Regions from separate parts of the Homo sapiens genome. Here region 2 is linked to region 1. The links are contacts of gene promoters, found by promoter capture Hi-C in blood cells and fetal thymus (Javierre and others, 2016). All regions are on one chromosome and are shown on one strand. Each heading gives the region's core, a stretch centred on a gene start or on the middle of the fragment in contact. The rest is flanking DNA. Distances are from core to core; before and after follow the strand shown.

Region 1 (4,981 bases), core at 1,560-4,059:
ACAGTTCAAGAAACAAAGGCTCAGATTCATAGCCCCTGAATAGTCCCTCATAGTCCCTGAGTTCATAAGTAGTGGTTATAGTACAATCTAAGCTATTTAATTCCAAAGCCAGTGATTTTTCTGGCCGTGAGCTATAGGTCCAAAGGCTCCAACAGGGCCCTCCAGACTCAATGGCAGGGTGGTGTCTGCACAAGCTGGAAGTGTCCTTGTGATGAGCCCATCAGGAGCGGCCCGGATTGAGCATCCCCCTCCACATCTGCAGCACAGAGTCCCGGCGGGTGGTGTAGGGTAAATGTTTGATTCGGAACAAGTGTCTGGGGACGATGTTCCCGCTGGGTGTATACAGCTTCTCCCCGTCTTTGCCCAAGAGACTGCGCAGGGCCAGGTTGCCCGACAGAAGCTTCTCATAGAACTCCACTCCACCACAGGCATAGGCTGCAGAGAGGGAGGCCGTGCGGCGGTCCAGCCAGGACTCCACGGCATGAGTGAGAGAATCCTGGGAGAAGGCGTAGGCCACAAAGCCTGCCACTGCTGCCACCAAGCTGAAGGCAGCCCGTAAATTCATGGGGCCTGCATGGAGCCCCAGGGTGTACTTGGCACCCACGCCCAGTGCCCAGGTCCCTGCCAGGCAAGCTGGGGCCAGCAGGGCGTGCACGGCAGTGGTACTGCTTTCCAGGTACACCACTTCCCTGGCCAAGGCGAACTTCTGGGCTTCACGGGACAAGGTCAGGGAAGCTCTCAGCCGGGCGCCTGCTGGGCTCCGCCAGTCCACTGTATGCCCATGTATGACCACGGGATGGTTAGTGTTGATCACTAGGTCTCCCAAGAAACTGGCAGGGATGCCCACCACAGCCCCAGCAGGGAGTCTTGGGAAGCCTGCACTCACAGGTTGGAAGGTGAAGGTGGTGAAGGGCTTGTAGCAATGGCCTGAAGGAACACCTATGTCCTGTAGCACCTCTTGGAAGAGGCTCTGCAGCTGTGGAGGGAGCGGAGCTGGCTGGCCCTGAGGCCAGTACTGGTAGAGCCATTGGACCACGGGATCCGGGAAGAGGTGGTACGAGATTGGAACTCCAAACAGGCCTGCACAGGAACCCACCAAGAGGCCTGTCCTGTGTCTCTGCACAAATGCTGCGGTCCGCCACAGGGGACCTGCCATGAGTGTAGTCACTGCGGACAATCTGGGCCAAGAAAAAGAGAAGTCAGCCAGTTTCCCTGGGTCAGCCTGCAGACTGAACATCCTCCAGGGTCCACACCACCTTTTTAAACCAAAGTAACACAGCATAGTGGTGAAGAGTGTGGGCTCTAGAGCCAGAGTGCCTGTGTTCAAATCCCAGCTCCGTCTCTGTGCGTCAATTTCCCCATGTGCCAAACAGGTGTGTCGTAATGGCCCACCTCTAGGGTGGCGGTGATGAGCACATGAATAAACATACATAAAACATTTAGTGTCTGGCACAGCAGCAGATATTCCTTATAATAATGGCTGTAATGACTTTTATTCCCATCGCTGGGCACGGCACTCCAACTGCCTCATTCCACTCATCCCATGGTAAAGCCCTATGATTACTAATTTATAAGGAAAAACGTGTTCAATTTATTGAGTGCTTACTATATGCTAGACTCAGTTCTGAGCACTCTTACCGATTGAACCCTCACAACCCCATGACCTAATTACTACAGCTAACCCTATTTCAAAGCTGTGAAAACTTAAATGGCCAAAATCCTAAGCTAGTGAAGTGACAGTGTTATGGGCTGCACTGTGTCTCCTCCTCCTCCCCAGTTCATATATTTAAGTCCTAACCCCCAGTACCTCAGACTGTGGCTGTATTTGGAGACAGGGTCTTTAAGGAGATAATTAAGATAAAATGAGGCCATCAGTATGGATCCTAATCCAATTTGACTGGTGTACTTATAAGAAGAGATTAGGATGCAAACAGGCACAGCAGGAAGATCATGTGAGGATCCAGGGAAAAGGCTACCACCTACAAGCCAAGAAGGGAGGTCTCAGAAGACACCAACCCTGTTAACACCCTGGTCTTGAACTTCCAGCCTCCATAACTCCCAGAGGACAAATTTCTGCTGGTTGGGCCACCCAGTCTCCGGTACTTCGGCATGGCAGCTCTAGCAAGCTAACACAGGCATAGTCAGGTGTCCACAGCAAACTTTTTGTTTTAGAAAACTTGTTATGCCAAATTACAAGCATATACCAAAGTAGACAAAATAGTACATCCATCAACTTCAATCCCATCAACTCATGGCCAATCTTGTTTGATTTCTCTTTCCACCACACTTCCGTCCAACTGGTTTATTTTGAAACATCCCCGGGCATCCTATCACTTCATCCGTGAATACGTCAGTAAAAATTCACAATTATTTCACTTTGATTGAAACTTACTGTATTCCTGTCCGTGAAAAGTGCTTAATGAGCAACGAATGAGTTGCCGCAAACAAAAACGCAGGGTACCGCTTGGCCTATCTTAATCAAGAACTCCTATAAGAATCATTATCATTCGGGCTTTTTTTTTTTCCCAATGCGGAAAGTGAGGCTAAGAAAGGAAAGGTCTGGACCAAAGTCCAACGTCCCTAGGGCCATCGCGCTGCGGGGTGGGCCTAGAACACAGTACCATGCAGCCCGCCGGTGGCTGGGGGAGGAGGGGCTGCAGGAGCCCCGCAGAGGGGTCCTCGCTACGCTTCCACTCTGGGCCCCTAGGCTACTCCGCAGTCTGAACGCGTTACCGGGTCGCATCAGGCCGGAGAAGGGTCCCTCCCGCTCGTCCGTGCGCTCACCTCCGCCGCCGCTCGGAACGCCTACATGTGCGCGCGGCAGGGCGGCCGCAAAGCACGCCGGCCGGGGATCTGGGGGCGGGGACTTCGGGAGGCGGAGCTCGCCGGCCCCGGATCTTGGGATGGGGACTTCAGGGGGCGGAGCTCGCCGGCCGGAGATCTCGGGGCGAGGATTTCAGGGAGGGGAGCTCGCTCGACGGGTCTGGGGGCGGGACTCTTGGGGGTGTGGCTGGGGGGGCCTCAAGGGGATGTCCGTGGGGGGCTCCGGCCGCCGCAGAGGCTCCTTCTCTAACTGTGCACCTTGGGGTGGGTCCGCTAGCACTTCCTCCTCTGCGTTGAAATGCGTCTTTGATTAATACAAAAATTAGCTGGGCGTGGTGGCGCACGCCTGTAGTCCCCAGCTGCTGGGGAGGCTGAGGCAGGAGAATCGCTTGAACCTGGGAGGCAGAGGTTGCAGTGAGCCGAGAATACGCCACTGCACTCCAACCTGGGCGACAGAGCGAGACTCCGTCACACACACACACACACACACACACCCCGGTGTCTTTGATCATGCCACACACACACACACACACACCCCGGTGTCTTTGATCATGCCACACACACACACACACACACACATACCCTGGTGTCTTTGATCATGACACACACACACACACACACCCACCCCGGTGTCTTTGATCATCACACACACACACACACACACACACACACATCCCGGTGTCTTTGATCATGCCGTTGAACCCCCGAAGGAACGGCAGCCCCGCGTGGGTCACCAGGCGGCCTATGGCAGGGCCCCCATCAGAACCCATGCCCATCTGACTGGCCGGCCCGTGTACTTCTCCGTCTGGAAGCGCTCACCCTTGGCGGGGAGCTCTGAGCTTTATGTTTATTACCATGTTCGCTGCCCCCCAAGCTCCTCCCAGGTGCTTCACACTGTACAGTCCACAGAGCAGCGTGCCATCTGTCATTTCTCCTTTCCAGCTGCTCTGTGAGGTAGATGAGGGATCATCTAATCTGTGCACCAAATCCAGCTCTCCACCTGCTTTTGTAAATAAAGTTTTCTTGGAACACAGCCATGCCCAATCCTTTACAGAGGGTGAAAACAGACTGCCTAGGGTTAAAGCCGGGCTCCACCCCTTACTAGCTGTGTGATAAAATGAGTTGGTGTATATGTAACCTGTGCCTCACGGTTTGTGCCGCCTAGCCATTAGCTATTATTATTAAAGTCTGTTCTGTTTCTGAGCCCCCCCCCCCAATTTTGGCTGCTCAGTTGTTTGTATGTAAATAGTGCAATGTGACCTCAGCCAAAGCCAGAATGTGGGACATTCTACAGGGCAAATGACGTGGTTTATCCAACAAATCAATGGCATAAACAGGGAAGGAGGGGGACTCAAAAGAAAAGAGACTTGAGAGTCATTGCAGTTAAATGCAATATGTGACTTTTATTGGGATCCTGAACCAAATAAACTAACTGTAAAAAAGACACCTTGGGCTGGGCGCGGTGGCTTACGCCTGTAATCCTGGCACTTTGGGAGGCCAAGGAGGGCAGATCACCTGAGGTCAGGAGTTCAAGACCAGCCTGGCCAACATGGTGAAACTCCGTCTCTACTAAAATACAAAAATTAGCCAGGCATGGTGGCACACGCCTATAATCCTAGCTATTCAGGAGGCTGAGACGGGAGAATCGCTAAAACCTGGGAGATGGTGGTTGCAGTAAGCCGAGATTGTGCCACTGCACTCCAGCCTGGGTGGCTAAGTGAGACTCTGTCTCAAACAAACAAAGGAACAAACAAACAAACAAAAGGCATCTTGGAGAAATTTGAATTTGGATTTGAATATTAGATGATATTAATGAATTATTGCTTATTTCATCAGATGGGATGATGACATGGAGTTTATATAAACCAAAAAATTCTTACTAGAGATGCATACTGAAGTGTTTACAGGTGAAATGACACAATGTCTACTATTTGATTCAAAATATTCCAACGAAACCAAATCCAAACAACAACAACAACAAAAAAACAGGGGCACAGATGAAACAACATTGACAAAGTGTTAGTTATTGTGAAGCTGCATGACAGGTTCAGGGATCTTCATCATACCATGCTCTACTTTTGTGTGTGTTTGGAAATTTCCATAATAAAAAGTTTAAAAAAATTTTTTAAAGTAGGCTGGCCAGTTGGACTCCATCAAA
Region 2 (5,176 bases), core at 809-3,308, 640 kb before region 1:
TGCTGTTGATAGCCTGTTGCTCTAATCCAGCAGCTTTCCTATACACAGCTGTTGAAAACCATCAGCGTTGGAGACAGCAAAAGAAACACTGGGCTGATAGATCGGAATGACTTAGGAGAGGGAAATCAACACACACACGTGTTGTGCAGATCTTGCAAAATCTAACTATAGGGAGAGAGGGGTGGGGAGAGGGGAAGAAAACAATTGAGCCCCAGAGGCATCTGGAAATGAATGCTAGACTCTGTCTGGGTGTTGCTCAATGGTGACCTGCCTTCCCAGGGGCCTTGCCAAGGTGTGGTAAAGGTGCAGGCTCTGCTGATGGCTCGTTTCATCCCTGCTGGAAGCAACTGGGGAGCTGCTTCAAAGTTGCAGTGTCCTTCGAGCAGCAAAGATCCAGCGATGCCAGGGCATGAGAAGGGCATCTCTCCCATGCGAGTGTGGTGAGCAGACAGGCGTCTACCTGCACAAGGTGTGTTTACGGGCGCAAAGCCTCCAACTCATGTGGTCAGGTTAGAGAACAGAAGCTCATTCATTCCCTATTTGCCCCAAAGCCTAACCCTTCTCCTTCAGTTACTTGGAGTGAACAACTACTACCCCACAAGGACCCAGGCCTGATGGCTTCTAGCATACAGCGTTTGCGGTGCAGGCAGCATTGCCCCGGAACAGAAAAGCTGAGATTCTAGAGACACCTCCCCGACACGCCCCTCCCTTTCTGCCACATTTTGGCCGTGTCTGATGTTGGCCCACAAAGTTCCACCAAAAACATCCACCGCCCACTACTCCTGCAGCCCAAGCAAAAGCTCGCAAAGGGAAAATCGAGGCGTTCCGTCAGAGCTGCGGCATCAGACAGAGGTGTTTTGGCAAGCCAGGGGCTCTAATGAGGCTGTAAATGACAGGGCAGGGAAGTGCAGGAAATGGCTAAACATCCTGTCGGCTTTGAACTCCACAGACCTGCTCGGAAGCACTCACATTGGTCTGAAACACGAACACCTCTTTATTATGGGATCAATAAAGGCTGTAGGAATCGCTTCTGGTCCTGCTGGTGTTACCAAATTTGATGATCATTTGCTGAGCACTGAGGAGATCACAGGCCAGAGGAGGTGGGGGTCCACCTGGGCTGTGTGGTCACGCACCCAGTGCCCAACGCTCAGACAGACACCAGCCAGCTTCACCTTGTGCTGCCTCTGCGACTCTGGGCGACTTAGTTTTCTGTGGCTCTGTTTCTTTGTCTATAAATTGAAAATAATAAATAGGGCCCACCTGGAGGAGTTGTGTGGGCCCCAGTGGAGTGATAATGTAGGTAAAGGGCTGACATGCCAGGGCCAGACACCAGGGTGACTCCCCTGAGAACCAAGAGGTCATCGCCATGGTTCAGAACCTGTTCCATTCTCCTCTGCTGCCCTACGCATTCCAATACAGCACCTTCTGCCTGCCACGCCCAGTCTCCAGGGCTGGAATACAGATGTGAGCAGGACCATTCCTGGCCTCCCGGCTCTGAGGAGGCGAAGCGCAGGCCCACAGCTGTGCGGCAGGAGCCACCCTCACAGCAGAGCCGGTGTAGACGCTTGAACGGCTCCTGCAGACACTCCCCTCTCCCCCTCTTAAAAAAACAAATGCCCTGGCCTCCATAGCCCCCAACATACCTGCTTGTGCCCTCCTCTCTCCACTGGTATCACAAACAGAAACATCAATCTGCCTTTGTTTTGCCAGGTCTGTTTCCACACACCCTTCCCATTATATTTGAAAACAAAGCTTCCCATCTTTGCTCGGACTTCTCAGCCTACTTTTAAGCAAAGCACTAACAAGCGCCTCCAGGGTGGGGTGGAGAGTTTGTGCCAAGAGCAGGGCTTGGCCCAGAGCCCATCCCTTCCAGGCCTGGTCACAGGGAGAGAGGGTGGAGATACAGCAGACAGAGGGGCCGAGAAGGGGCCTGCGGCCTCCCCACCTTGCCTCTCCCTCTGGTAGTGAACGTCCTCCCCATCCCCAAGGGCCTCCAGTCGGCCCTGGGCTGCTCCAGGGGTCCCTTTCAGCAGACCGCCCCCAGGCCTGTCAAGCCTGTCTCTTGCACAGAACGCTTTATCTGCCCCCACCCCTGCATCCTGTTCTCTGTTCCAGAGGGGCAAGGCTGTGGAACCCCAGAAGACAGGCCTCTGAGAGGACCCGGGTCACCCGGACCTGGACTCAAATCCCATCCCTGTACCTCTCCTTGGATGAACCATCGAACACTGAGCTTCCATTTTGCATCTTCCAACTGCACAGAGAAGTAAGTGTGTGCTGCTCCTTCCGTGGTTGGTGCTGAGTGGGGATTTCGGGAATGGTCCCTGCTCCCTGCATTTTCCACAGGGCCAGCGGGAAATAAGCTTTACCTCCACCGCACAGGAGGGAAAACTTCAACTCGCATGTTAGGGTAAACTGGGGAGAGACTTGGGGTAAATGGGGAAGTTTTTTTGGTGATGGGTTGGGAGGGGCCCTTTACCCCCAGAGGAAGTGGTCACCTCCGAGGGTCTAGCTTGGTGGCAGCGGGTACAGTTGTAGCCTAGAGAAGAAAGAACAGGGGCTACACACATGTGATGTAAAACCGAGGAAAAGTGAAGAAGTGCGAGGTGCTCGTGGGGTCACCAGGTTTGGGGCTCAAAGTTCCAGGAAAGGAGGGACTCCAGGCCTTGACCTCCACTGCACACCTGGGGACAGGGGCCGGAGACAGTTACCTTGGAACCACCAGCGCCCACACACAGGGACACTCCCCACCTGACAACTAAACTGTGGAGTTCATTCAAGTCTTTCCAGACCGCTGTGGTAACTGAAGACTAATTTTCCAGTGCAGGAAGAGGATGAGGGACCTCCTGTCTCATGCTTTGTTTAACTAATATGAAGGGAAGGGGAGCCAGGCGCGGTGGCTCATGCCTGTAATCCCAGCACTTTGGGAGGCTGAGGTGCGCGGATCACCTGAGGTCAGGAGTTCAAGACCAGCCTGGCCAACGTGGTGAAACCCCGTCTCTACTAAAAATACAAAAATTAGCTGGGCGTGGTGGTGGGAACCTGTAATCCCAGCTACTGGGGAGGCTGAGGCAGCCTCCCTAGTATATATATATATATGAGGGGAAGGGGGCAGGAATCATGGAGCCAGAGAAACTGATTTTCAGTTCATAGGCAAGCGGAGGCCTGATGTGGAACTAATGGGGCTCTGCGTCATGGGCAACTAAACCTGGAGGGGGCACCGTGCCCGGTTCTCCCAGAGAAGAGAAGAAGGACTGGGCAGACAGCTCTCCATCTCTCTGTGGAGGCCTCCCCTCCCACTTCCTTCCCCAACACCCCACCTCCACCTGCTGCTTCCAACCCCCAGCCCTGTTGGTTCTAGAAAGTTTGGTTGTTATCCAGCAGGAGGATGAGGACTGGTTTAGAGCAGAGCCATTAAACTACAACCTGTGGGCCAAAGCTGGCCCACCCCTTGTTTTTCTAAATAAAGTTTTATTGAAACAGTCACACTTGTTCCTTTACATATCATCTGGGGCTGCTTTCTCACTTTGAGCTGTTGCAACAGAGACAGTGGGGCCTGTGACACCAAAATTATTTGCCATCTGGTCTTTACAGAAAAGGTTTGCCAACCCAGGTTTACAGAAGGAGAAAGGAGGGTGCTTCCCACCTGCTTCCCTTGGTGAGTGGGGAGGAGCTGGTGGCAAAGCGCAGGTTCTTGGCAGTAGGAACCAAGGCAGCCCTGCATCAGGCTGGGAGGGCCGAGGAAGGCCTCTGTGGAGATACAGAAAGCGGGGCTTAGGAATGGGGAGGGAGCTGAGGCCTGTGCCCAGAAAGGGTGGGCCAAGAACAGGGAGAAGACAGCTGGCACAGAGGGGACGCTGGGCTGCCCCTCACAGACTCAGCTGAGGCAGGAAAGACTTCGCTAAAGAGGAAGGCCAACGCGTTTAGGCTTTTTCAGAGAAAAGGACAGCGCTCCCATGGGCAAGGGTGAGTGGGGAGAGCAGGCAGGCGCGGACCTTGAGCTTGGGCTCCTTGGGACCTGCGTGACCCACAAACCCCACCCCTGCCCGGCAAACCCCACCCCTCTGCAGCTTTCCTACTGCCCTTGCTGTACCATGCCAGGGACTTGCCACCAACTGCAGCTCCGGCTGCTGTCGGATCCCTCCATCAGGAAAACAGTGGTCCCCTCACAGCTGGCTCCTCCCTTCCCCACACCACCCCAGCAGGACTGATCTCTCCTGTTTCCCAATGTCTGTTAGGGGGACTCCACCACCCGGTCCCCCAAGTCAGAAGCACCAGACGTCCCGAGGCCTCTTTCTCCTTCCCATGTCCCGAGGCCTCTTTCTCCTTCCCCACCTTACATTAAGTCACCTCCAAGTCCCTCCAAACCTCCAGGTGTGCTTCTGAAATCCATCTGGATACCCTCCCTGGCTCTGGCCACCCTGCCCTGTCTCCCAGCCAGAGCAGCCCTCCTCTGCGCTCACTCGCAGCCCTGCACATCTGCTCAGCCAGCAGCAGCTCTCAGAGGCTTCCTCACCAGCCGGTTTCCTGGGCCCTGGCATTCAGGCCACCCCTCCGGCCCTTGCCAGGCCCCCACCCCAGCACAGTCAGGCCCTGTCTCCACTTTCTGCAGAATGTTCCAAGCAGAGGTTTTGGGGCCACACAGCAGCTGTGGGAACTCAAACAAGTCAGCCCACCTCACAGGGCCTCAGTTTCCTTACCTCTAAAATGACGACAGCACCAGCCAGGGCCAAGGCCACTGTGAGGATGCAAAAGGCTGTTACTCACATCGCTGCTATTTCTGTCCCTGCTCCTGCCTCTGTGCTTGCTTCTGCGCCATTCCATTATCATTCACTGAGCAAAAAGGCATGGGCTGCCCAGGAACTCAGGGAGGGGAGTGAGCTGGAGTTGACCATCATGTTACAAGGGCCACAGTGCTGCTGCGGGCATTTCAGCACTGTGCCGGGGTGGGAACCAGTGTCTGGCTTTGCCTGGAGAAGCAGAAGGGCACAGTTGGGGGAAGTGTGCTGTGTGCTGTGGCGGCAGGGTGGGGAAGGGTGCAGCCAGGGCCAAAGGCACAGTGCTGAACACGCAGAAAAGGGCAACAGGCACACGATGGGACCACAGCGTGTGCAGATGACAGCCGGGAGCACAGACAAAATGATGTTCTGCGGATGGCAGCCAGGGACACAGAGGAGGT

The links. The method cuts DNA at HindIII sites, captures the fragments that hold promoters and counts their contacts. A CHiCAGO score of 5 or more calls a contact.
Region 2: a contact is called between a fragment that was not itself captured here and the fragment with the promoter of TMEM177 in region 1, in 9 of 17 cell types (total B cells, total CD8 T cells, non-activated CD4 T cells and 6 more). The highest score is 11.4, in total B cells.

What each region holds. Positions count from the first base shown.
Region 1 is chr2:119,677,029-119,682,009 of GRCh38, reverse strand. It overlaps TMEM177 (transmembrane protein 177), which reads right to left and starts at 2,809. Exons shown (of 2, transcript NM_030577.3): 1 at 2,734-2,809; 2 at 1-1,178. The coding sequence starts at 1,156. The coding sequence ends at 221. RefSeq lists a silencer at 2,733-2,962. The HindIII fragment of the contact is 6,463 bases long and covers 403-4,981 here.
Region 2 is chr2:120,315,606-120,320,781 of GRCh38, reverse strand. LOC105373584 (a long non-coding RNA gene) reads left to right here and starts at 1,441. Exons shown (of 3, transcript XR_923260.3): 1 at 1,441-1,710; 2 at 2,116-2,263; 3 at 3,144-3,479. The HindIII fragment of the contact is 608 bases long and covers 1,755-2,362 here.